Regions from separate parts of the Homo sapiens genome. Here regions 2, 3, 4, 5, 6 and 7 are each linked to region 1. Evidence: promoter capture Hi-C in 16 types of primary human blood cells and fetal thymus (Javierre and others, 2016). All regions are on one chromosome and are shown on one strand. Each heading gives the region's core, a stretch centred on a gene start or on the middle of the fragment in contact. The rest is flanking DNA. Distances are from core to core; before and after follow the strand shown.

What was found. The method cuts DNA at HindIII sites, captures the fragments that hold promoters and counts their contacts. A CHiCAGO score of 5 or more calls a contact.
Region 2: a fragment that was not itself captured here is called in contact with the fragment with the promoter of KCTD9 in region 1 in 1 of 17 cell types (neutrophils); the score reaches 8.0 in neutrophils.
Region 3: a fragment that was not itself captured here is called in contact with the fragment with the promoter of KCTD9 in region 1 in 1 of 17 cell types (neutrophils); the score reaches 6.0 in neutrophils.
Region 4: a fragment that was not itself captured here is called in contact with the fragment with the promoter of KCTD9 in region 1 in 1 of 17 cell types (neutrophils); the score reaches 8.6 in neutrophils.
Region 5: a contact is called between a fragment that was not itself captured here and the fragment with the promoter of KCTD9 in region 1, in 8 of 17 cell types (total B cells, total CD4 T cells, naive CD4 T cells and 5 more). The highest score is 20.4, in total B cells.
Region 6: a contact is called between a fragment that was not itself captured here and the fragment with the promoter of KCTD9 in region 1, in 1 of 17 cell types (total B cells). The highest score is 7.7, in total B cells.
Region 7: a contact is called between a fragment that was not itself captured here and the fragment with the promoter of KCTD9 in region 1, in 1 of 17 cell types (total B cells). The highest score is 5.5, in total B cells.

Annotation. Positions count from the first base shown.
Region 1 is chr8:25,456,636-25,460,148 of GRCh38, forward strand. KCTD9 (potassium channel tetramerization domain containing 9) reads right to left here and starts at 1,798. Exons shown (of 12, transcript NM_017634.4): 1 at 1,564-1,798. The coding sequence starts at 1,611. It overlaps CDCA2 (cell division cycle associated 2), which reads left to right and starts at 2,598. Exons shown (of 15, transcript NM_152562.4): 1 at 2,598-2,838. RefSeq lists enhancers at 847-896, 2,267-2,496 and silencers at 1,507-1,556, 1,917-2,126. The HindIII fragment of the contact is 4,823 bases long and covers 1-3,513 here.
Region 2 is chr8:23,518,925-23,522,437 of GRCh38, forward strand. No RefSeq gene overlaps it. Among named protein-coding and RNA genes, the nearest start is that of SLC25A37, 8.3 kb to the right of the region's middle. The HindIII fragment of the contact is 9,103 bases long and covers 1-3,513 here.
Region 3 is chr8:27,386,946-27,390,458 of GRCh38, forward strand. The region is part of intron 1 of PTK2B (protein tyrosine kinase 2 beta); the gene reads left to right. Among named protein-coding and RNA genes, the nearest start is that of MIR6842, 45 kb to the right of the region's middle. RefSeq lists an enhancer at 745-794. The HindIII fragment of the contact is 3,018 bases long and covers 155-3,172 here.
Region 4 is chr8:27,336,248-27,339,760 of GRCh38, forward strand. All of the region lies in intron 1 of PTK2B (protein tyrosine kinase 2 beta), which reads left to right. Among named protein-coding and RNA genes, the nearest start is that of PTK2B, 12 kb to the left of the region's middle. The HindIII fragment of the contact is 3,040 bases long and covers 303-3,342 here.
Region 5 is chr8:26,669,403-26,672,915 of GRCh38, forward strand. No RefSeq gene overlaps it. Among named protein-coding and RNA genes, the nearest start is that of DPYSL2, 160 kb to the left of the region's middle. The HindIII fragment of the contact is 1,155 bases long and covers 1,269-2,423 here.
Region 6 is chr8:26,638,820-26,642,332 of GRCh38, forward strand. All of the region lies in intron 8 of DPYSL2 (dihydropyrimidinase like 2), which reads left to right. Among named protein-coding and RNA genes, the nearest start is that of DPYSL2, 130 kb to the left of the region's middle. The HindIII fragment of the contact is 2,840 bases long and covers 374-3,213 here.
Region 7 is chr8:26,622,916-26,626,428 of GRCh38, forward strand. It overlaps DPYSL2 (dihydropyrimidinase like 2), which reads left to right. Exons shown (of 14, transcript NM_001197293.3): 4 at 1,228-1,392. Among named protein-coding and RNA genes, the nearest start is that of DPYSL2, 110 kb to the left of the region's middle. The HindIII fragment of the contact is 1,415 bases long and covers 956-2,370 here.

The sequences.
Region 1 (3,513 bases), core at 548-3,047:
ATATTTTTAAAGTAAATAAAATTTAAATCCAAGAATCTAATCTAGTCAAAACTAGATAGCTTAAAAAAAAAATCCGTGTGAACAACAATATGGAAAGACCAACTCAGTTAATTTTTGACAACCAAATTGAGTGGATTTGGGAGAGATTTAGAGCAAAAATATTTATGACTAGGTTTAAATATTTGTCTTCCATGAGTAACATAGCAGAGATACTGCATTAAAAAGGTCAACCAGAAGTTTGTTTTTGAGAAATATTACCAATTTTGAACATACTAAATCTTTCTTAGAGTAACAACATACGTTTTAGATAACAGGTAGTAGCTAAGTACAGAACAGGTTTAGAAAAAGTTAATAGTGATGAGAAATGTAAACTTCGTGAACATATTTTCGGGGTAGCATTCATGATAACTCAAGAACTCGAATTTATACGAATTCTGATTTTAAATGAGTATTAAATCTCTAAGACCAAAAGAACATAAAATTATAGCCAACAAACCACACTCTGGTTCGAATTTTCGGAGCATGTTTACTCTACACTGAATAATCGGAAAGCCATTTTTAATGCCACTGGACAATTTCACTATTTAAAAATTTACAGTGTTCCCCGAATGTGCAGGCAGCAGAGTATTTTGGCAACCAACACAGCGAGACCCATTTACCTTTACCTTAGACTCGTAAAGGCTGAGTTACTTCTAGGTATCATTTAGCAACGCAATAAATGTCTGCCTCGAACAGTGAAAATTTCCCAAAGGAGCAGAACAACTTTCATGGGTGGGGCAAAAGGCTGGGAAGGAAGAGAATTCGTTTTGGCTTGCTCCAGCGCTGGAAGAACACTGAGCACCACACTCTCCGCAAAGGCCTAACACAGCAAAGGCGACTGTCAAATCGATCCCTTTTGGGTCTGCTGTACCCGTCCTCTAGGGAATCAAAATAAGGCAAAATAATAAAAAGAGTACAGAGAAGTTTGGCGGCGGCGGGGCGTGGGGGCTTGAGGCATCTCAGAGAGGAGGGCAAAAATCAACAAGAAAATGCCCCCATTTTAAAAATCCTGTCTGCGACCTCGGATGGGAGATTTTGTTTATCCACGGGCAGTTTACTTCTGTCTCCCTGACCCATCTCCACAGGCTCTGGTGCTCGCCGCCACTTTCCGAGCAGATCATTACTCAGCACCGGAGCCGGCGCGCCTCCTCCCGCAGGCGGGAGCGGGGTCTCGGGGAGAGGCGGGAAGAGGCGCGACCGCCCGGGCGCCCAGGTGACCGCGGCCCTCCCCGCGCCCCCGTCCCCGCGCCCCCCGCACCAAGCATCCGGGAGACCCGGAGCCCCCGGGCCGAACCGCGCCGGCCCCCAGGCAGCTGAGGCACTGAAGGGCAGGCTCGGGCACGGGGGTCCTGAGGGTCGGGAGGAGGCCGCGGGGACCCTGTGCTGTCCCCGAGCGCCCCCAGCCCGCGCACGCCCACCTCCCAGCCCCTCTACCCAACTTCACCGCTGCCCCGCCAGCCGGTTCCGCACCGTCCGCCCTCGCCCCGACCCCCGGCCCGCCGCGCCCCCTCACGCCCCCGTTACCTTTCCGTTCTTGGGGCTGCCGTTCAGGAACAGGGTCACCCGCCTCATCGCGCTGCCCCCGCTGGGTCCTGAGTGAGCCGCCACCCTCCCACCTGGTCCTCCTCCCACCTTTTTCTCCTCCCGCCCTTCCCCTCCCTCCACCCACTCGGATTCGCCTCCCTTCGCCACCTTCCTGCCCTTGGGGACACACCACACGCACGCACTCTGTCCCACACCCAAGGTTCGGCCGGTCCTCCTTCCCACCCCGCCCCTAGGCTCCTCAGCCTGCCTGGGGCCCTTCCCCCACCTCTCCGAGACTGACACTCTGCCGTACCAACCAACCCGCGTCACCGGACAGAGTCCAGCCAATCAGCACCCAGTATCGGGCGGGCTCTGGCTAACCTAGCCGGGACGGAGGGAGGGAAGAGACGCTGAAGGCTAGTAGACGGGAAGGGGCATCAGCCAATCAGAGAGGCTCCTGGAGCCGGACGGCGGCTTCCAGCGTTACTGAGCAGGCGCACCCTCTAGTTTAGGTAGCGCTTATCTGCATACGAGGGCGGGGTCTGGGGAAAGGAGGTGGAGCGCTGAAAGGGACCCAAGCACCAGTCAGCCCCTCCTCCAGCGTTAGCCCCGCCCACAAGCCGGCCCAGCTAGGAAACGGCTGCGGTAGGGACGGACTGATTGGGTAAGAGCCAGCTCGTCGCTCTGTTAGGATTGGTTGAATGAGTCTTTTCGAAGTTTGCAGCATCCAATAGAAAGGTGGGAGGCGGAGTTAAAGCGCTAAGAGAAGCGTTACTCCGCGAGACTCTCCTGAAAAGTAGTCCCCGAGGTCACAAGGCAGTGGCAGGTGTCTGTAGTCCTCGGGTTGACTGCAGCTCGCGGTGGTCCCTCTCCGAGCCCAGGAAGCCACTCCAGTGCCGAGGGAGAGGCCTGGGAGCGCTCGGAGTGTGCGCGGACTGGAGAAGGGGGAGGTGGCGGAGTGATTCGTAGAGTAAATTCGGTACCGAGGGGCGGGGTCGGGGATTTGAATCGGTCGGCGGGCGGAGGAGGCGGGTGGAGGAGGCTGCCGGGCAGAGCGCAGGCCAGGATCAGCGCAGGCTGTGAGTCCAGGTCAGCCGTCGGGACCTCGGGCTCCGGGTTCGAAGAGCGGCTCCCGGCTGCGGGTGCTTTGCCAGGAGAGCCCTTCCGGACAGAGGAGCCGGGGTCTGGAAGGAGCGGCCGACGCGACGCTCGCCTGCCACGGGGCTCTGGGAGTAAGCCTGTCTGCCTGGCGGGCCTTCAGGTGCGGCGTGAGAGGTAGGATTGCATCCGCGCTGCCACGGGGCTGTTTCTCCGGGGCATTTCTAGGCACTTTGTTCGGCTTACCCTGCAGCACAGAATTAGTACTCCTGTCAGGAGCTGCTCTGGGTGACCAGGAGTGCATCCGGACCTGTTGAGAGAATTTCTGGAAATGGATAGAGCTGCGTCTTGAGAGGGGTACCCTTATGATTCAGGTTTTCGCTACGGTTGAAAAGCCATGGCTTATCCTTTGGGGTCTGCTTTGGTGCCTGAACAGCAGTTTTCTCCATTTCTTTCTGTTTAATTTGGCTTTAAAAGTACGCGCTTAGAGTAAAAGAATGGTTAGCACAGGGTGGGAAGTGTATTGGGGATGGATGGGAAGGAAGTGGAGATGGTTAATAGGTAGAAAAACAAAGAATGAATAAGATCTAGTATTTGCTAGCACAACAGGGTGGCGGTCCATAATTTAATTGTGCATTTAAACATAACGAAGTATAATTGGATTGTTTATAACAAAAAGGATAAATATTTGAGATAATGGCTACCTCATTTACTTTGATTTGATTATTACGAATTGCATGCCTGTATCAAAATATTTCATGTACCCCATAAATTATACATCTACTGTATACCCACAGAAATTAAAATAAAAAATGAAACCTGTGACGTGTGTTTCTATGCCAGTATGGACTG
Region 2 (3,513 bases), core at 532-3,031, 1.9 Mb before region 1:
TATATTAGGAGTCGAACTGCTGAGTCATAAGTCATGTGTATATGCAGCTTTACTAGATATTGCCAGACCGTTTTCTAAACTGGTTGCATCAGAGCTGGTTAGTTTTAAAAACTGGACTAAAAATACTCTTTCTGATTATGTACACCAAATGTCCTGATTCTTGAAAATCTGTCCTGAGTAGGCAGATTTCTTGGGGAAAACTGCTACGTAGCATCTTGCTACATAGACAAATTTTATGAATTACCACATTTGGGCTCAATTGAGAAGGGTGTGTTTATTACATCAAGGAGGACTCTGGAAATTAATAAAGCAGAATTAAGAACTTCACAGTGTGTATGTGGCTGAATTTCCCCATAGCCTGGAGCTTTGATGTAGGGAAAAGGTGCCATCCAGCCCATTCTCGCACAGCCACATTGGGAGTCTCAGATACTGGGGCTCCATCTACCAACACAGTAGCTGAAGTGTTCAGCCTGGGAGCCTGAGAGGAGAGGGAAGATCTGGCTGCTCTCTGAGGCCACTCCCAGGGTTCCTCTCTGCTACCCAATGTTTCTGAAGGCCTGTCTCCACAGGCCACCAAGTGGAGATCCTTGGTTAACCCTTCTCTCCCACCTGAGAGACTCTCGGTGCTAACTTTGCCCCCCCCCGCTTTGGTAGGTGGCAACCTGGCACCCTTTGCACATCTTTCTCCTGCAAATTCACAATCACTCTGCAATTGCCCCCCAACAGCAGCTGAAACAGAGGTCCAGACTTGAGAAACACATATGACTAAAGTCAGGAGAGACCAGCAAGGCATAATTAGATGCTGTGGACAGAGAAAACACGTGGAACGCAAATGGAAAACCACAGTGGTTGGTGCTTCTAACTGCAAACGAGCTGCTTCTCCCAAGGGCAACTCTTGGAAGCAGTGGGTTTTACTCAGTCCTGATCTGTCTCCAAAGCACATGCTTGTTATTTTTATGCGACATCATCTCCATCCTCCTACAGAGGGGCATCTTCTCTGCTCAGTAGTCTATTTGAGGCAGGGAAATACAGAGACTTTGCTACCTGAAGGATCGTGGTCAGTGAACTCTCTTATTCACTGTGCATAGAGCTCAGTACAAAACTGTGCAAATGTGGCCATGTGCTAATGTGCTGTGTCAGGTGAACCTGACCAGAGTGGAGAATTGATGACTATTGATTTTTACAGAGCAGGCATCTGAGATATGACAAATGATAGCAATAAAGGAGTTTTATCAGGCTCTGAGTTTATTTCAAAGGTGAGTAAGTGAACGGGTATTGAATGACACACCTGGGGTTTTATCCCAGCTCTGCCACCAACCACTTTTGTGTCCTTGGACACGTTACTTTACCTTGGATCTCTTTTGTCCACCTGTAAGAAAGGACTTATAGACTATATCATACTCTAGTTCTCTTCCAGGTCCCCAGCTTAGTAACTCCATGTTGTCCTAAGAAAGGTAGTCCCCTGGCCGGGCGCGGTGGCTCACGCCTGTAATCCCAGCACTTTGGGAGGCTGAGGCAGGTGGATCATCTGAGGTCAGGAGTTTGAGACCAGCTTGGCCAACTTGGTGAAACCCCACCTGTACTAAAAATACAAAAATTAGCCAGATATGGTGATGCGTGCCTGTAATCCCAGCTACTCGGGAGGCTGGGGTGGAGAATCACTTGAACCTGGGAGGCGAAGTTTGCAGTAAGCCGAGATCACACCATTGCACTCCAGCCTGAGTGACAGAGCAAGACTCCATCTCAAAAAAAAAAAAAAAAAAAAAAAAAAAAAAAGAAAAGAAAAGAAAAGAAAGGTAGCTCTCTAATTTAGTGTTTGTGACATATACTTTGGAAGAAAAAAAAAGTCACCTTTTTCTCTCTTCTACACAACCTGTGCTCAGAATCTCCAGCTCTGAGGTGCAACATGTTCTTTAACTCCCTGGGAATCATGGACGTCTGCAATATTTCATGCTGTTATATAGGAAGATGAAGCTCTTTTCCAAAGAAATTCTGACTCATTTAATAATATGTACTGTTTATTCATTGTGTGTATTCAAGGAACTTAGAGTGTAATGGGAGGGCTAAGACATGGCTTCCAGAGCTGCAATATAAAGTGCAAGGTTCTAAGTAAGAGCTGTGGAAGAGGCAGGGAAGAGCTCCAGGGTTCCTCCTACTTTTTAGGGGTCAGAGAAGACTTCATGGAAGGTGAGGTGTCTGAGTTGAGAAATGAATGTTGAGCATCATTTCAACAGTGGAGATGTGGAGAGTCTTCCCTTCCAAGAGGATATAAGAAGAGACAAGGGCCATAGGTTGAGGGACATGGTTTTGGGGGTGACAAGCAAGGTCTGGCTATAATTAGGTGACTCTATGTCCTGGTTTTCCCAGGATAGTCTCAGCTTATACCCTCTGTCCTGGTGGAATTGTTAACAGTGACCCTTTCCATTCTCAAAAAGTGTCCCAGTTTGGATGATAAATTACAGAGTCACTATAGCTATAGATGATGCTATCTCAGAGGCTGGATCCAGATGTGGCTAATAGGATCTAAGAGTCAAAAAAAGAGAGAGATGACTCTATGCTTGGCTGCAGGTTGGTAAAAAGGAGGTAAATGCAAGGGGAAAAAATGGCATTAGAAAGAGTTGGTGGCCAGGCGCAGTGGTTCACGCCTGTAATCCCAGGCGGACCACTCGAGGTCAGGAGTTTGAGACCCGCCTGGCCAATATGGTGAAACCCCCATCTCTACTAAAAATACAAAAACTAGGCCAGGTGCGGTGGCTCACGCCTGTAATCTCAGCACTTGGGGAGGCCGAGGCAGGTGGATCACCTGAGATCAGGAGTTTGAGACCAGCCTGGCCAACATGGTGAAACCCCATCTCTACCAAAATACAAAATTTAGCCGGGCGTGGTGGCGGGCGCCTGTAATCCTAGCTCCTCGGGAGGCTGAGGCATGAGAATCGCTTGAACCCGGGAGGCAGAGGTTGCAGTGAGCCGAGATCATGCCGCTGCACTCCAGCCTGGGTGACAGAGTGAGACTTTGTGTCAAACCCGTCCCCCCGCAAAAAAAAAAACACGAAAAAAACCCCAAAATTAGCCGGGAGTGGTGGCGGGTGCCTGTAATCCCAGCTACTCGAGAGGCTGAGGCAGGATAATTGCTGGAACCTGGGAGGCGGAGATTACAGTGAGCTGAGATCACCCCACTGTGCTGGGTAACAGAGTGAGACTCCGTGTTAATAAAAAAGAAAAAAAGAAGGAGTTGGTGATTGTGAAGAAAGATTAGAAGGACAGAGCTGGAGGGGTCTGCATACCAGTGAGTCCAATCCAGATAATCATTTCACAGATGAAGGAACGAGAAAAAGGAATGTTAGGACAGGAACGCAGGCCTCTTGGTGCTCTTGCCTCACTGGACTGAGTTGAATAGTGTCTGTCCCTCCCACCCAATTCATGTACACCCAGAACCTGTGAATGTGACCTTACTTATAAATACAGTCTTTGCAGATGTAATCAATTTAAGACAAGGTCATACTGGATTAGGAT
Region 3 (3,513 bases), core at 414-2,913, 1.9 Mb after region 1:
CAAGTCCTACATATCCATGACTATATACATATTAACATGTCAAAAGTCTGCATTCCTTTCCATACATGTATGAGGAATTTGTGTTTGAGCAGAATTCTGGGGGCTACATCAGAAAAGCAGGTTCATCTGGGCTGTACTCTTTGGCACAGAAATAAGCTTGATGTGTGGAGACCAAGCTCAGATCAGGGGTGGAGGGAAGGTTGGGGGTCACTCACTGCTGGGATGTAGGCTGTGGACTGTGTTTGTTGGGGTACAGTGGAAAATCTGAGCTCTGGTCTTATCTCTGCCACTGAAGAAAGGGGACCCCAGGCAAGCTGCTCAGTCAGTCGCTTTTCCTCATCCTCAAAATGGGAGAGCAGCCTGCCTTGGGAGATATCAGTGAGGTAGCAAGGGTGCAAATGCTATGAAGGGAGATTCAGCATGTGATATGCAAATGTGAAGCTCCTCTTCCTCTAGCTGTTACATTTCTTCTTAACGTTGATTTGGATGAAGGAGTCAGATCCATCTTTCACGGGACAGTCCTACAACCGTTCAAAACCAGCAATCCATCCTGCGTTCCCATGACTCACTCTCTCTTTGGTTTTAGGGGTCTGCACCATGTGATAGGGCCTTGTTGAATGCCCTTGCCCTAGAAGACGGCCTCTCAAACCCCAGGCCCTCAGCTTTCACTGCTGAGGTGGGATCGTGTGTGCAGAGCCCAGAGGGAAATCACCATAGTTTCTTAGGGGTTTTCTGGTAATCCCAACACTACATTAACTTTTTTTGGCAGCCACATCATAGTGACTAACAGTGAATTTACAGTTAGCCTAAATCCTATTTTTTAATCCATCCACTGCTAAACCACATCTTTCTCATCCTAGACTGGGGAAGGCTTTTTTTTTTTTTTTAAATCTACATGAAGAATGGCTCATTTATCCCACTTCACAAGTTGCGTTTTGTTAAACTTGGCATGACTTACCAGCCTGTGAGGATTTCAAGAACTTTTTTTGATCCTCTGTTAAAGCCATAATCTCTCCCAATCCTGTGCTCAACTTGATGCTTCTTGTTTAATAACCACAAGCTCCTTCATACCCAATTAAAAGGCGTGAACAGGAACAATTAAAACAACAGTCTGCCATCCAGGTTAATGCAGACATTTGATTAGCAGTCTTTAGAAGAAACCATTTGACCAACTAGGAATTCACCTGCTATCATCTGACCTCCTTGTTAAACTCTCAAGAAAATGGGGAAGAACTCAGACAAATTGAAGCATTGATTCATCATGGTACCAAATTTCTCCGCTCAGCAACCAACTTTGTGACCCACTCAGAGGGGGACATGAGATTTGCAGGAGTTGGAGGTTGAGAGGGAAGGAAAAAGCTGAGATCATGATTTGAAGAGGAGAAGTTGGAGGATAACTTGGTTTGGGGTTAAAGATGACAAAGAGTGTGGTTTTGAAAATAACAACTTTCAGAGGACTGGAGAGTAAGAGAAAAGAAGCTCTTGGGAGGAAGGGGCACATGGTAAGATGCTATGCCCCCATGCACCTTGTACATTGTTGTCTTGAAGTACTGGGTGGTGCCACCACTACAGGCAACAAGTGGGACATCAACTGTCAGAGGTGGCTTGAGGCCAGGGACCCTGAGATCTGCCCTTTTTGCCCAGTCTGTCGCTGTTCAGACAGTGGTGTGCTGGAACCAACTCTCACAAGCCAATGGTGTCCATTTCTCCCCAACTCCCCTTTCAGTGCCATCATGCTGGTGGCTTGGAATCAGCCACAATGAAAGTATTTACACCAGAGAAATTGGCAAGTGCTACAAATCAAGGCATCCTTCTCTCAGATTGCCAGTGGCCACACACACACCAGGCACTTATTCTCGCTGCCCCTGTGGCCTTCCAGCTCACACCTGTGCTGTATCCTTGTGCCAGATTTATATTTTTAAAATGAAAATCTGCTTTTCCATGGATGATGTTCAAAAATTTCTTAGCAGATTGCCACCTTCTGGTCTCATTTCCCAATGACCCCTCACCCACCCTCTTCACCAGCCCTACAGGCAGCATGTCATGGGGTTTCCTGATCTTTCTGGGTCACTTTTTCCTAAGATCCTGAGGCCCAGTAGGCAGGTTCTCTTCTGTGATCATCTGGTCCCATGCTTAGAGTTCTATTAGAGACCGTAGCAGGCTGTGGCTGTTTTTGTGTGTTTTGTTCCGTTTTATCTTTTTTCTTTTTACTGGATTATGATCTAATAGATGGGGACCTTCTTCCCTCTTCTGTTTATCTTCATAGCTCCAGGTCTGCTATGGTTCCTGAAACATAGGAAGGCAGAGAGAGGAGGGAAGGAAGGAAAGAAGAAAGGAGGGAGGGAGGGAAGGAAGGAAAGAAGGAAGGAAGACAGGAGGGAAGACAGGAAGACACTCCAGCCAAAAGGCATTCATGACCTGGCAAGTAAGGAGCACAATGAGTATAATTTTTGAAGAACTAAGAGAAGAATGGAGCCCAGAAGTCAAATAGGAGATAAGAAAAATCTGGCTAGCTGCAGGGATCAAAGGCTTTGAGGGGAGGAGAGGTTCCTTTAGCAAGAAAGCCCAGGGTAATGCATCCCTGTTGCTCCCCTCCTGCCCCGCAAGACCCCCCCAAGCCAGCTGGCCTCTGAGCTGGCAGGAGCTGGCAACAGGGGGACTCCCAGTGGGTAATGGGTGCGGGGGTGGGGAGCTGAAAACGTGGTAAAGTCTCAACAAATGCGTTTTGTATTACATTCAATTATAGCTGGCAATAATCACAACCTTTCTGGTTCTTTCCTCCGCAAGGTAATGGGGAGAAAGCCTTGGAGAGGAGGGAGGTGATTTAGCAAATGCTGGACTGGAGGGCCCTGGAGCAGGCAGAATGCTGGCCCTGCGGGAACTGAGGGCTGAGAGGGCTCTGGTTGGGGAGGGGGCACTGTGAGGAGCCAGCAGGGCACAGCCTTGCCCAGAAACCTAGGACCAGCTCCCTGAGACTGCAGGGTCATTGCCAATTAGTTAAGTGGCTGCACTCAGCAGGCCTTTGGGATAGGAAAGGGCTGCGTTCTCCATCTTGTTGATGTGGAAACAGCAAGGGGAAGTGATTCAGAGGCGGAGTGGAAATAAAGTGTGTGTCTCGTGACATTGTGACTTCTGCTAGATCCAAAGGGCTGCACTTGACTGTCTCCTGGGAAGCTTCCTTCCATGGACAGGCGCCTGTGGTGCTTTCGAGACAGGCAATGGGGCTGTGCAGGAGCAGAGGAGAGGGAGGCATGATCTGTGGAGGTGGGGCAGGTGCATGGAGGAAGGCAGGGCTGGGTGAAAAGGCAGCCTCAGTGCACGGAGCACTGGAGGTAGAAGGGGCTGCCACAGCCACCTGATCCTGCACTTAGGAGGTCAGTTTAGATTTTTTAAAAGTCAGGTTTAAAGGCCAGGCATGGTGGCTCATACCTGTAATCCCAGCACTTTGGGAGGTTGAGGAGGAAGGATCACTTGAGGCCGGGAGTTCAAGACCAGCCTGGGCAACATAGAGAA
Region 4 (3,513 bases), core at 573-3,072, 1.9 Mb after region 1:
ATCTGGCTCTCCAAGGCACCTGTGACCCCAAAAGATTAAGAACATCTCTCATAAGATATTATCATCCGTTCTACAAACCTTTCATAAAAATGACCTCAAACTTGAGCTCCTTTTTAATTCAGACAAACTAGGCCATAAGCCCTGTTGAGGAAAGAACCGTATCTGTATGGAGAGTCACTGTTACATCCCAAGGACACAGCCTGGTACCTGACACACAGCTGGCATTGAGTACGTACAATGTGTGCCTGATATAAGGCAGCTCTGTTCTCCCAATAAGGAGGGCTGCTAAAAAAAAATTAAAAAGCTTATTTTCATATGTAAACTTTGTAGGATAATGTTGAATAGATTATTTTAGCGATACATTTTCAATCACATGCTAATAACAATACATTAACTTAAATACTGCTTTCCCCCAACTCTCCCAGTTTAGGAAACATTGTAACTGTTCACTCCCATCTCTGACATCAGTGTCCTTCTTGTCACCAGAACCCTTTCTGCATCAGCTCTTCATGTTCTGTGGGCATCATAGTCCCTGTGGTCTAAAGAGAGTTAGCTGTTTCAAATTGATCCAAAAGGAGTTTATTTACTTATTTATTTTTTATTTTTGAGACGGAGTCTCTCTCTGTCACCCAGGCTGGAGTGCAGTGGCACAATCTCGGCTCACTGCACCCTCTGCCTTCTGGATTCAAGCGATTCTCCTGCCTCAGCCCCACGTCCCCACCACCCGTCCCCCCTCCCCCCGCCACTGCCAGTTTTTTAATAACCGCTAATTAATACTTATTGATGAATAGTAGTTTTTTGAGATACAATTCACATACCGTAAAATTCACCTTTTAAAAATGTGCAATTCAATGAGTTTTAGTACGTTCACAGAGTTGTGCAACCATCACCGCTTTTTTTCTTTTTTTGACAAGAGTCTTGTTCTGTTGCCCAGGCTGGAGTGAATGGCATGGTATCAGCTCACTGCAACCTCTCCCTCCTGGGTTCAAGTGATTCTCCTGCCTCAGCCTCCCAAGTAGCTGGAATTACAGGCACCTGCCATCATGCCTGGCTAGTTTTTGTATTTTTTAGTAGAGATGGGGTTTCACCATGTCGGCCAGGCTAGTCTTGAACTCCTAGCTCAAGTGATCCACCCGCGTTGGCCTCCTAAAGTACTGAGATTACAGGCGTGAGCTACTGCGCCTGGCCCTCCATCACTGCTATCTAATTGCAGAATATTCTCGTCACTCCAAAAAGAAACCCCCGTACCATAAGCAGTCACACCGTGTTCTCCACTCCCCCGTCCCCTGGCAAGACTAATCTACTTTCTATTTTTATGGATCTGCCTTTTCTGGTCATTCCATATAAGTGGAATTGTACAACACTGTGGCCTTTCGCGACGGCTGCTTTCACTTAGCACAATGTTTTGAAACTTCCTCCATGTTGTAACATCTATTAGTACTTCGTTTCGTTTTGATTGATATTTATTGATGAGTAACATTTTGTTGTGTGGATATGCCATATTTTGTTTATCTCTTCATTAGTAAACATTTGGATTGTTTCCACTTTTTGACCATTGTAAGTACTGCTGCTATAAACATTCACATACAAGTTTTTTTGTGGACATATGTTTTCATTTCTCTGAGCTATAGACTTAAGAGTGGAGTTGCCGGGTCCTGTGATAACTCTGTTTAACATTTTGAGGAACTGTTGAATGGTTTTTCACAGCAGCTGCCTCATTTTTTATTCCCATCAGCAGTACTTCTTGGTTCTAATACCTCCACGTTCTCGCCAACACTTGTTGTTGTCTGTAATTTCGTTGTTAGCCATCCCAGTGGGGATGAAGTAGTATCTTACTGTGGTTTTCAGTTGCGTTTCCCTGATAATTAATGATGGTGAACATCTTTTCATGTTCTTGTTGGCCATTTGTATGTCTTCTTGGGAAAAAAAATGTCTGTTCAAATCCTTTACAAAGTATTTATTTTTTATGTCAACAATATAACCACTCAGTACACTGCTTTTTAGACAATGATCTTTTAAAGGTTTGTTTACAACATTTAGCACTTGAAATTTTAAGGTTATGCCCTCAAAAAAATTGCTGAGGGAGCTAAGCTATGAAGATGCAAAGGCATAAGAATTATACAATGGACTTTGGGGGAATCGAGGGAAAGGGTGGGAGGGGGGTGAGGGATAAAAGACAAATTGGATGCAATATATACTGCTCCAGTGGTGTGAGTCCATCAAAATCTCAGAAATGACCACTAAAGAACTTATTTATGTAACCAAACACCACCTGTTCCCCAAAAACCTATGGAAAGAAAGAAAGAAAAAATTTTAAAAAGAAAAATTGCTGAATCTATATTATAGTATGGTGGTTGCTTTTCATAAAAACCAATTCTTTTAAGTAACCTTTGTAAGCATCCCAAACTAGCCTTGATTGATTGGAGTGCTAATACTTTTCCCAAACAGTATATTGTTGTTCAAAATAAGATAATTGAGAAAGCAACCCATAACATGAAAGATTCTGTAAGGGCTTGGATATAAACTTTCTCCTTTCTGACAGATAATTTGGGAAGGTAGAGAGCTTTACCTCCTATTCAAGCAAATGTGATATTTAAAAATAAGTAGATGGATGAATGGACAATGGACTCATGAATGAATGAACAAAAGAAGAAATGCAAGCAAGTAAACCAATCAAGCAACCACACCAATCTTTCCCTCTTTATTTAGGATTTTCTAATCCCCACTTAGTAAATCAGCCTTGGTCTTTAATTTACATTTTATGGAACCATATATAAAATTGTTTAAAAAACAAGTTTACAGTTACAGATTAGAAACAAGACACTGTATTTTCTGTCGCCTGGAATATCTTTATCATCTTCCTTTAAAAATGGGAAGAAACTAAGGCTGCGCAGGGTCCTGGAGGCAGTTGAGAGACTCAGACATCAAGTGATGTGATTGCAGGCCTTGGTCCAGAGTTGTAAGTCACCAGAGTGGGACCTTTAGGCTTGTGACATGATAACAAGGATTTTCTTGGGTGGGCCCCCCAGCTCTTCATTGCTCTTTCCATCAGCACAAAGGCTTCTGGGTTGCTGATGTTTTGTGTGGTGGCCCTGGAGGTCTCTCCTTCTACCTTCTCTGGGGTGAGACAGTCTGATCCATCTCAGAGGCCACACTCACCACCTACTGCACAGAGACACAGCCCCCTCCCCATCCTTTACCATTGGTCCTTTCTTAAGAAAATGTGTCAGCTGGCAAATGGTACTCTGGAGTTTGGGGTAAGAGAGAGAAAGAGGAAGAATACTGGGCAAGAAGGTAAGAAAGGAAGCTGTGGCCTGACATGGGCACAGAGACATGGGCGAAAGCTTGAGAGATGACCTTTAAAGGCTCAGACCCCGGAAAGGGAAGAAGTTGGGACAATGGAAAGACTGGCAGGGTGGTAACATAGCAGGCAGGCTCTGGCGTAGTTGACTCTGGATTGTGTATGGTTGGAGTTGGGGATCAGGGGGTCAGGGACAGTACACAGCAATGTGG
Region 5 (3,513 bases), core at 596-3,095, 1.2 Mb after region 1:
AAAGGCCTTTCTACAATAGTGATGTTATTTGCAGGAGTAATTGGGGAAGTTACATATCTTATGACCTCTGGAATAGTGACTGGCAATCCTTTATGTCTACACCTTAGCAGAATTCAGGCTCCTCTCTTCCTCCTAGCCCTGTGGTCTCTCATTAGCTTTACATAGGTGGCTGAGTTCTAGGGAAGGGCTATTATCATTTAAACTATAAACTAAATGTCTCCCAAAGTTAGCTTGGCAGCTTGAAGGCCAAAGGCAAGAGGGGGGCTGGCTAGATCAGATTTCCCTCATTGGCACAGTTTTATCACTGATACGATTTTTGCAAAGGCGGTTTCATCTTCAGATTAATTACAAAATTATGTACAAGGTCCAAGTGTCCCCCCACTAGATGATGATCTTAACACTTTCATCTTATGAAAAATGGGGAATAGATTCCCAAAGTGTTGCACTTATCTACGCCAGGCTCCATGGATTCTAGCTGCATTTGAGGGCTCCCTGGCTCATGGCCTCAGCTCCTGACTCAATTGTCCTCAGTGTTTCATTGATAAATTCATAAATTTGAGACTGTCTCAAAAAAATTCTGATAAGTGTTGTGATAAGCTATAAACCATAGATACATAATTAGGAGGATGCAGCTAACTGTGGGGATGAAAAAGACTTCCCAAAGAGTTCTCAAGCCTTCGTGAAATTGAATAAAGACAAAAACAGGGAAGTCTGAAACTGCAGCACGATGACCCACAGGCCCGTTCCATATGTGTCTTGGGCCTAGTTCATCTCCAAGGGCACTGATCTGGTCCTTGAACGTCAGCTTTTTATGTAAACTGTTTGAGGACCAAGGTGTGTGTGGACCTGCTGTTCATTCCCTGATGAGCTGATAGTGATAGTGCGTTCTATCAGTTTTTAGTGGCTTATTTGCACATCTGATCTTATTGAAATGTTATAAAGTTCATGGAGGGCTACTCCATTGGGATTATTATTGCTCTTTCTCTCCCTCATTCCTTGTTCTCCATCTTCCCCTCCACGCCCCACCCTGCCATGAGGGTTCCAGCCATTCCCAAATGAGTATTCTGTCCTTCAGGTCCTTATTTAGAAAAACAGTCATTGGCCTGGTTGCCTTTCAATATTTAATTCTACTTTCATAAGTGGAAATAAAGCCTGCTCTTGCCCCTTTCCTCCTAGATGACAGTAGTTAGGATAATATGGTGACCTAATTAATGGTAGTCTTGGTTGACAAAGTATTTGTCAGGTAATTTGGAATGACAGCTGTGGAAAGCTTACCTCTGGCGGCTTAGCTTAGTTTGTCCAGTAGGTGGCAGTAGTGTACAAGCTGTGCGAGAGCAAGTTCTCAAGAAGACAAAATGCAACTTCCGTTCCTAAGCAAGAAAAGGACAGAATGCAGTATCTGTTCCTAAGCAAGCACCCAGCCAGCTGTATCTGGATGTGGACCTGCATTCGGTCCATGAGGAGACCAACAGGTGACTCTGAGTTTAGAAAGCTACGTATTAAACATAATGGTGTGTAGATTTAGCAAGAGACACTAAAAAAGTTGATTATTAGGGGCCAAAATCTCAGATCCCCTTATTAAGTAAATTGGTTTTCCTGATAGAGGCGCCCTGTGTTCAGATAGCGTTTGTGTGGCAGAGCTGACTGCAAGGAGACAAAGGCTTGCTGGGGCTTTCATAGGATGGTACTGTGCTGGAGTGGGCTATGTACACTACGATCACGCCGAGGCTGCAGGGAGCGAGCTTGCAGGTGTCTGGTGGTATAAGTCGGGCGCAGGAAGATTGTGAGTTATTTACACAGGAGGGCTGTGTGTCCTGGACCATGAAGAAAGGCAGACTTGTAGCTTGTTTGCTTCTTTTTGCTTTCCCCTGCTCCCACCAGCCTGACTTTTTCCCTAATGAGGACTTCACAGTTTGCAGCGTTGTCAAATTAGCTAACCAGATGCAATAGGAGTCAGGCTTTCATTCCCTCTTGCAGCCTGTTTCGGTGCTTCATGTTAAAATCCTGTAGTTACTCTCTCTCTCTTTCTTTCTCTCCCTTTCTCTCTCTCTCTGTCAACAGAGGCACTGTAAATTACCAGTGACTGGTCAAATTTGTGACCATTCTTTATCTCCTTCCCTCCTGTCCCTGAATTTGGCTCTCGTACCCAAGCCTGGCTTTCGTATCACACTGGATGTATGGGGAATGAGGCTCAGCACTGTCACTGCATTTGTGTTATTTCATCTGATCAGTGTTGTGATGAACTATAAACCACAAGGACTCAAGGGATCCCCCTGCCTCAGCCTCCTGAGTAGCTGGGATTACAGGTATTATGATACCCGAAATAGGTAATATATTAGCTGCCTATATACTATTCATGCTGATTCATTTATCTGTACTAATTAAGACTTAGCACCTTAGGTGAATGGAACATAGACCAAACAAGCTTTTTAAAATAACGATTTAAAACAAAAGAAAAGTAATGTATGTTAAATGTAAGAACATATTTAAAAAGTAAAGTATCAGCATAATATTGGCTTCCTATAATGATTTGGGATGTGTTCTTTCTTTTTTAATTTAATGCAAGAATGTATTCAATGTATTATTTCCTCCTTAACTGCTTGACTGGTTGAATTGACCATTGAAACCATTTGGACCTAGAGTTCTCTCTGTGGGAATGTTTTTAAACTACAAATTCAATTTCTTTAATAGGCATAGGGCTATTTAGTTTATCTGTTTCTTCTTGAGTAAGCTTTGGTAGTTTGTGTCTTCCATGGAATTTGTCCATTTCGTCTGAGTTGTTGAATTTATTGGCATAGAATTGTTAATCATATTTCCTTATTATCTTCTTAATATTAATAGAATTTTCAGTGATGTCATCCTCTCTTTCCCAATGTTAGTAATTTGCATCATCTCCCTTTTTCTCCTTATCACAATGGTTAGTTTATCAATTTCATTGATCTGAAAAAACTAGCTAATAGTTTAGTTGATTTTCTCTATTGTTTTACTGTTTTGCATTTAATTGATACTTCACTCTGATTTTCATAATTTCTTTTCTTCTATTTAGGACGAATTTAATTTGCTCTCCTTTTTCTAGTTTTCTGAAGTGGAATCTGATGTATTTTTTCTTTTCCAATGAAGGCATTTAGTGCTATAAGTTTCACTGAAGTTACCGTATTCATTTTCTTTTTACCCATGAGTTATTGAGGAATATGCTATTAAGCTTCGAAGTATTTGGGAATGATCCAGAGATTTTTCTGTTACTGACTTCTAACTTAAAGTCATTGTAGTTAGAGAACTTACATGGTGTGAACTTAAATAACCTTAAATTTATGGAGACATATTTTATGAGCCTAAATATGATCCATCTTGAAAAATGTTCCAAATGCACTTGAGAAAAATGAGTATTCTGCTGAGAGGGAATGGAGGGTTCTATAAATGTCGGTAGGCCAAGTTGGTTGATGGAGTTCTTGAAATATCCTAATGTCCACAGTGATTATTCATCTACTTGTTATATCAAGCCATACCAGCCTA
Region 6 (3,513 bases), core at 544-3,043, 1.2 Mb after region 1:
TCCAGGCTCCTGGCCACCTCTCTTTCCATGGAGGGCCCCTTGTGGGGATTTCTTCTCTAGAATGGGCTCCCTCTGACCACATTTTGTCCATGTGTGAAATCCAGCATGACTGCTGATGCCTTCCATGTGTGAGTGGTGGCCGTGGGCAGTGCCTGATGACCTCATCTGATGGACATTCTTTTCCGTCCTCCTCCTCACCCCTCTCCCATAACCCGGGTGCAGAAACATTCAGGACATTAAACCCTGGGAACCTCAATTTGAGATAAGACCTCTTATGTCCTGTGGGTCAATAGGAGTGACTCAAACGTTATGAGAAGCACATGGTCGCAGGGCCTGTGAGGACCACCTCAGCTTGGGGATGAGTCCTTAGTTAAGCTTATGCTTGATGTTGCAATCTTGAACAGAAAAGGGGGATGAGAGAGGAGAGAGGACAGTAGAGAAAGGGGGAAGATTTATTTTAAAGAATTATATTTAAGGAATCAACTCACACGATTGTGGGGATGGCAAGTCTGAAATCTGCAGATCAGGCCACAGACTGGAGAACCAAGGAAGAGCTGATGTTGGCATCGGAGTCCAAAGGCAGAATTCCTTCCCAATCTATGCCCTCACTTTTAACGGCAGATGGTCTGCAAGGTTGGGAATTCAATTTGCATTGTAATTCAGCCACTGCCAGGATGAGATCCTACTTCTGGTTTTCAGCCATCTCAGCTCTGCATCTATGGGACATAAGGGCAGACATAGAAACTTTTGATTCATTCATGTGGTGCTTGAGCTGGGAATTTGAATCCCTGAATTCATTCTTCTTTTTTCCCCCACTTTGTCTAGTACAATTAGGAGCAACCAACCACTCTCGTTATACTTGTTAATTTTACAAAAATGTTTAAGGTATCTGCTACACACCCACCTAGAACCTTGCCTCTTAGAAGCCTTTGGGAGTATTTAATAATATTTTCTGTGTCTCTATTGTCCCATCATGCCCTGTACTCTCCTCTTTTTACTACTGGACGTAGAATCATTAGTGCCTTTCAACCCAATCAGATCTGAGAACGAATTTCAGAAACCTCAGAACCCATTCAGAAAACTCATTTTTAAGATGATGTTCTTCTAGAACCACTCTTGCTACGAAAACCTGACAGCACAGTCCCCAGGCTGTTTGTTAGGGTCTGGCATAAATTCTTGGAAAGGCAAAGGAGAATGGTGAGAGCGTGTGTAACTGTCTGTCTGTCTGTCCATCCCAGTTGGTTTTCACTGTGCTTTGGTGGCTGCATATGGAGCTACAGATACTGATTTCCCACAGTTCCCACTTTGGATTTGTTCTCCTGCTTCTCGTCCATGGGAAATGACTGCCAGAGCTGGGAGCTATCAAGCATATTTAAACCGCAGCCTTCCATTTATTCTTCATGAATGCACACGGGCCCCAGACTGGTTGTAAATAAGCACCAGCTCCCATCCCCTGCAGTTCTTGGCCTTATAGAGAGCCTGCCAGAGGCTGGCTTGGTCACATCCTTCAGTTTAGACTTTACCTGGAGAAGAAAATCACAAAGGTCTAACGGGCACCCAGATAGCATCAGCAGTGTATTTAGAGAAGTGCAGAAGGGCCAATTAAGCCCATTTCGTGGTTTATTATTATTAGTGGTAATTATTTCTGGCATGCAGTTCAAGGGTGTCTGTGGCCTGGCTGAGCTCCGGAAGTGCATCCACAGCACCCTCCTGTGAATGTTTATAGACCCAGGAGGGGAGCCCTGGGTTGGGAGCTCCAGACCACTGGGGATGGGAGGCAGAGACTCTATGTATAGATCATACTCTTGTGGAGGTAGAGGCCTGGAACATGATGGCTAAACTCCTGTCGCTGATTCTGGGCTAAGAAAGAAAGAAAATCCAAAAGACAGCAAGGACCTCTGAATCCCTGAGGGAAGTTGAACAGAGCAAAGTAGAAATGAACCACAGGATGGCTCCATCCCTCCCCTGGCATCCACTGCCCCTGCCCCTGAATGTCCCTATCTTTGCTTAGCTGTGGCCCAGAAGTCCACTCAGCCTTTGTCTAAAGAGGCAGGTTCTGCTCAGCAGTGGCGTTGAGAGCTCAGACCCCATTTTGGGTTTTCTAGAGGCAGAAGGCCAAGTTCATTCTCTTGAAGTGAGGTAGATATTCCTGTGCACAGAGAGAAGGGGAATCCAGCTCCTCATAGAGCAGCTCCCCACCCCAAGCTGAGTTGTGTTTCGCAGGGAGAGATAAGCCTGTGGTCAGCAGCATTCATCCCCATGGTATTCAGGCCACTTTCCAAGAACCAGCCCCTCCTTGTACTTAAGTTTCTAGAGGCAGGGCCGAGGAGCAGGCACAGGGAGAGGATGAGCGTCGGCAAGTTACAGGAAACTCAGGAAAATGTTTATGTGTGTCCAGGGATTTTCAGAGACTATCCAGCCATTCTTTATCTCCAAGTGCCTCTGCTCTCATGAACTTCTTCATGTGGACAAAAGCAGGAAGCCTTTAGGGCCACGCATCTCTTGTTTTCCTGTGACTTACACAGCCCTCACCTTTGTGCTTAGATGGACTGTGGCCAGCGGGACCTCCAGGCCTGGCTGGGTCAGGAGAGTTTTGCTTAACCAGATCTGTTTGATCCTTGAACCAAAAGCGGGGAGCCAGAGAGATCCTTTGAGAACTGATGACTGCTGCTGGGTCCTGCCCAGCCATTTGCATTTTATAAAGGTCTTTGGCAGCGGCCAAGGCCTTCTCATTATGTGGTGTTTTTCCACTTCGGGATGAACCGGAGTGGTTTGTGCAGCCACCTGATAGCTCTTTGCACCAGCTTCTGCATGGGAGACTTTGAGCAGGCCAGGAGCCAAGGGGACCCTCCTAGGCCTTCCGAGCACCTAGCACTGGCCCTTTTCTTCCTTGGGGCTTCCTTCTGGAGGAGGTTTCCCTGGGTTTGGAGTCCTCCCTCCTGCTGGGGGTGGGGGCGTGGTTGCTGGTGGCCTGGAGTGAGCTGCCTGCTGTGGCCTCCAGCACTCCCCAGCTGAACAGCGAGTCCTTTGTGAAATTCCTGAGGCAGGAGGGGGCAGCTGTGCAGAGCCAGCTCTCAGAGTGGCCGACAGGGAGGGTGTTGTGGTGTATCATCAAGTGATAAGGCCTTCGGAAAGGCTGTGGAGAGGAAGGAAAACACATTCCTGACTGTGGTGTGTTTGCCCTTGAGGGCCCTGTGTTTGGGGAAGTAGAGAAGCTTGGCTGCATTGTTGTGGGGTGGGAGTTAGCCCTGTGCTGGGGGGAGCTAGTGAGAGATGAATTCAGCTGACCTGGGATCAAATTCCAGCTTGGATGCCTTTAATTAATAACATATTAGACCATTTAATCAATTTAACACACGTTTTTGGAGTGCCTACTATGTGCAGGCAGGTAAATGATCTTCAAGGTGTCTCCATCAGGTGGAAAGTCAAAAATTCAGAACTGGGCAATGACTGGAGGGGAGGATGGGATTCTCAGGTGAAGGGTGTGAGACCCGAGTTGTGTTTTGGACGATG
Region 7 (3,513 bases), core at 413-2,912, 1.2 Mb after region 1:
TAGAAAATCTAATATTTAGGAAGAATAATTCATTGCTTTAAGTGTTCAGTCCTGGTTTTTATTTCTATTGTTGCACAAGTTTGATTTGACCTTGGACAAATCATTTCAGTTTGTATTTTAGTGCTTGTGTGCAGAAGATGGGTAGTAATAGTCCTGGTAATCCTCCTGCCATCATGTTAACTGGGTGAGAGCTCTTCAAGACCTAGGAGAGATAATAGCAGGTGCAAAGTCCCTGTGGTGGGAGGCAGCAGGTAGATATTTTAGGAGCTGAAAAACGGTCTGTGTAGCTGGAGAGCAGGGTACAAGGGAGAGGTGGTCCAGGGTCATGTTATAGAGGTAGGCCAGGGCCACACTGGTTGGGGTTTTGCAAACCTTACTGGGGACTTGAATCTTTATCTGAAGAGCAGGGGGAAGTCATTGGAGGATTTAAATCAGGGAATGACATAAGATTGATGGATATGCTATCTCCTTTAATCCTCATAACAAATGTATGTGCTAGGTAATATCCCCGTTTTAAAGCAGCACAGAAATTAGGGCAGTGGAGATTAAGGAGTTTACCCCAGGACACCATGCAGGTGAATGATGGAGCCAGGAAACCAACTCGGGTCAGCTTGCATCCAAAGTCCTCAGTCTTCCAGATCAGCGTACCTCCATAGTAATATAACAATGACTGCAGTTTTAAAACACTTTGAACTCTTAAGATGAAAGATTTCCCTTAAATTACAAAGTGGTATTATGCTGCAGAAATGTGAGCGGTAATGAGAGAGCAGGTAATGCCCGGGAACTTTTGAAAGGCCCGGTCCGTGTGGCTCTGCTCCAGCACCTTCAAGTTCCCTGCCGTCTGGCGGGGGGCGTCTCATAAGCTGCTTTCAACACAAAGAAGGGTTTGGCTGCTCCCCGGCCATTTGACACTGCCATTGTCCATAAGGACTCGTTGTCCGTGAAATGCACCCAAAGCTTGAGCTTTCAGGGGTTTTGGGAAATCAGATCTGGGCAGTGCATGTGTGGTTTCGCTGGAGACATCATCCAATGCCAAGTTTCTGCTTTCTGCTTTCTCCCTCTTGGATAATCAGCTGGGTTACATGGATTCTTAGAAGCTGGTTGTAGAGATCACCATCTCGATTTTGAACCCAAGAAGCCTTATTCAGGGTTCAAGTGGGAAAATACCTGCTGGCCCACGGCCCTTGAGGCTCTTGGTGATGATGACATATGTCTGTTTCTTTCTAGTTGACCACGTTGTTCCTGAGCCTGGGACAAGCCTGCTCGCTGCCTTTGACCAGTGGAGGGAATGGGCCGACAGCAAGTCCTGCTGTGACTACTCTCTGCATGTGGACATCAGTGAGTGGCATAAGGGCATCCAGGAGGAGATGGAAGCGCTTGTGAAGGATCACGGTAGGTTGCACTGAGTCAATGCCCTCTGCAGATGTTTCCGCTTCAGTCCATCAACTGGCACAGCCCTGGGAAGAAAGTGATAATGCTTCCAGATCCCATTTGTGCCTCATGCCCATGCCTGCCCCTGGGAAGGAGAGAGGGCTTTGGGCCGCAGCTTATGCTGTTTGGAGGTGGCCTTACCCAGTGCAGTAACATGAGCCTTCATTGATGATAAGAGAAGATGAGGCTTACTGCTGGGACCTGTTCTTAGGTGACAGCTGCTCACAGCTTATTGGTTTGTGAGCACCGTGCTCTCTAGCCAGGGTGGGGAGTTGAGGCTGCTGAGAGAGAGATTTACCCTCAAAAGATAACAAATACATATCTCAGTGAGGATTTGACAGTCTCAGGAGAGTGTTGGGCAGCCCCTTCCTACAAACCTGGATGGATCTAGGATAGATTTGAGGGCTATGAGACACTTCAAAACTGAGTGACAACCTGAGAGGGCTTTTCCTTTCCCTAGAATTATTTTGGAGAACAAATTTCCAGGGATTGGGAAGATTCACAGAGAGGCAGGAGGAATCTTTACCACCTCAAGGTGCCTCTGGGACTCTTGTCAACAAGAACCTCGGGGGTTTGCGGGGAAGAGCCAGGCCACATCATCTTCCTGGGTCTCGCTGGGCTTGGCTAGAGACCAGATTAACTTCACTGGATCTTAGTGTTCAGGGAAACACCTATTGCTTTAGGGTTCTGGGGACTTCCAGGCTTAGAAACACCATGTGCTGTGAGTGACATGGCAAGAGGGAAATCTCTAGGTACTAGAATGATAGAAAATGCCCCGGAATGAAAAGCAAGAGTCTTGGGTTTATTTCTCTGATCTTCCACAGACTAACTGTGTGACCCTGGGTAATTTGCTGAAATTTTATGGGTCTCAGTTTTTTAAACATTTCTCATATATGAGGGTCTTGGACTAGATGTCCTCTAAGATTCTTTCCAGCACAAAGCTTCCACATAAAAGAAAATAGGTAAACTTTGACTTTTCTCACTTTTGATCATGCGGAGACTCCAAGTGGTTTAACTGTGGATACTTAGACTGAATCTGCTCCAAACCAGGCAGGAGGGTTACCATGGTAACTGTTGCCTGGCAACGGGAGAAGGGCCAGGATGTCCAGAGGCATTTAACTCAGGCAGCTCCCAGCACCCCCCAGGTGGCTTGAATTAAACTCCAAGGCTGCGAGGTTGTCAGGACAATTGTTTAAAATTGTGATGAATGTTGGGCAGGGATGTTTGGTCTGGTGCCTAGGGAGGCAAGAACTCCAAGACGCCAGGATGAGAATTGCGACATCTGCTTGTTGAACTAATGGACCTTTTCTTACTTAAAAAATCATTTGCTTAAAAATCAGCATGGAAGGCAGTCTGTCTGCCAAAGAAAAGACATTTATCACAGTTCTTCATAGGCAGAAACTTCTAATTCATTTTCTTGTTACAGTCGCAACAGACTTGTTTGGTAGAGGCAGCTTAAAAAATTAACTGTGGTAAAATAAATATAACATTCAAGTTACCATCTTAACCATTTTTAAGTGTGTGTGCAGTTCATTGTTTTAAAATACACTCATAATGTTGTTGCAACCATCACCACCCTCCATCCACAGGTCTCTTTATCTTGCAAAACTAAAACGCTACACTCACTCATTAAACACTAACTCTCCACTGTCCTTCACCCCAGTCCCTGGCAACTGCTGTTGTACTTTCTGTCTGTGAAATTGACTTCTAGGGACCTCATACAAGTGGAATCATATAGTATTTGTCCTTTTGCAACTGGCTTATTTCATTTACCATGATGTCCTTAAGGTTTCTCCATGTTGTAGCATGTGTCAGGGTGTCTTTCCTTTTTAAAGGCTGAATAATATTCCATTGTATGGATAGACCACATTTGGTTTATTCATTTATCAGTTAATGGAGGCTTGATTTTTGCTTCCACCTTTTGGCTATTGTGAATAATTCTGCTATGAACATGGATGTGCAAACACTGGCAACTTTTAATTTTGATATACTTGTAAACTTACAGGAAGATTATAAGAATACTAAAAAGCATCCTTGTGCCTCTTCCTCCCACATTCACAGGTTATTTATATGGTACTCTGC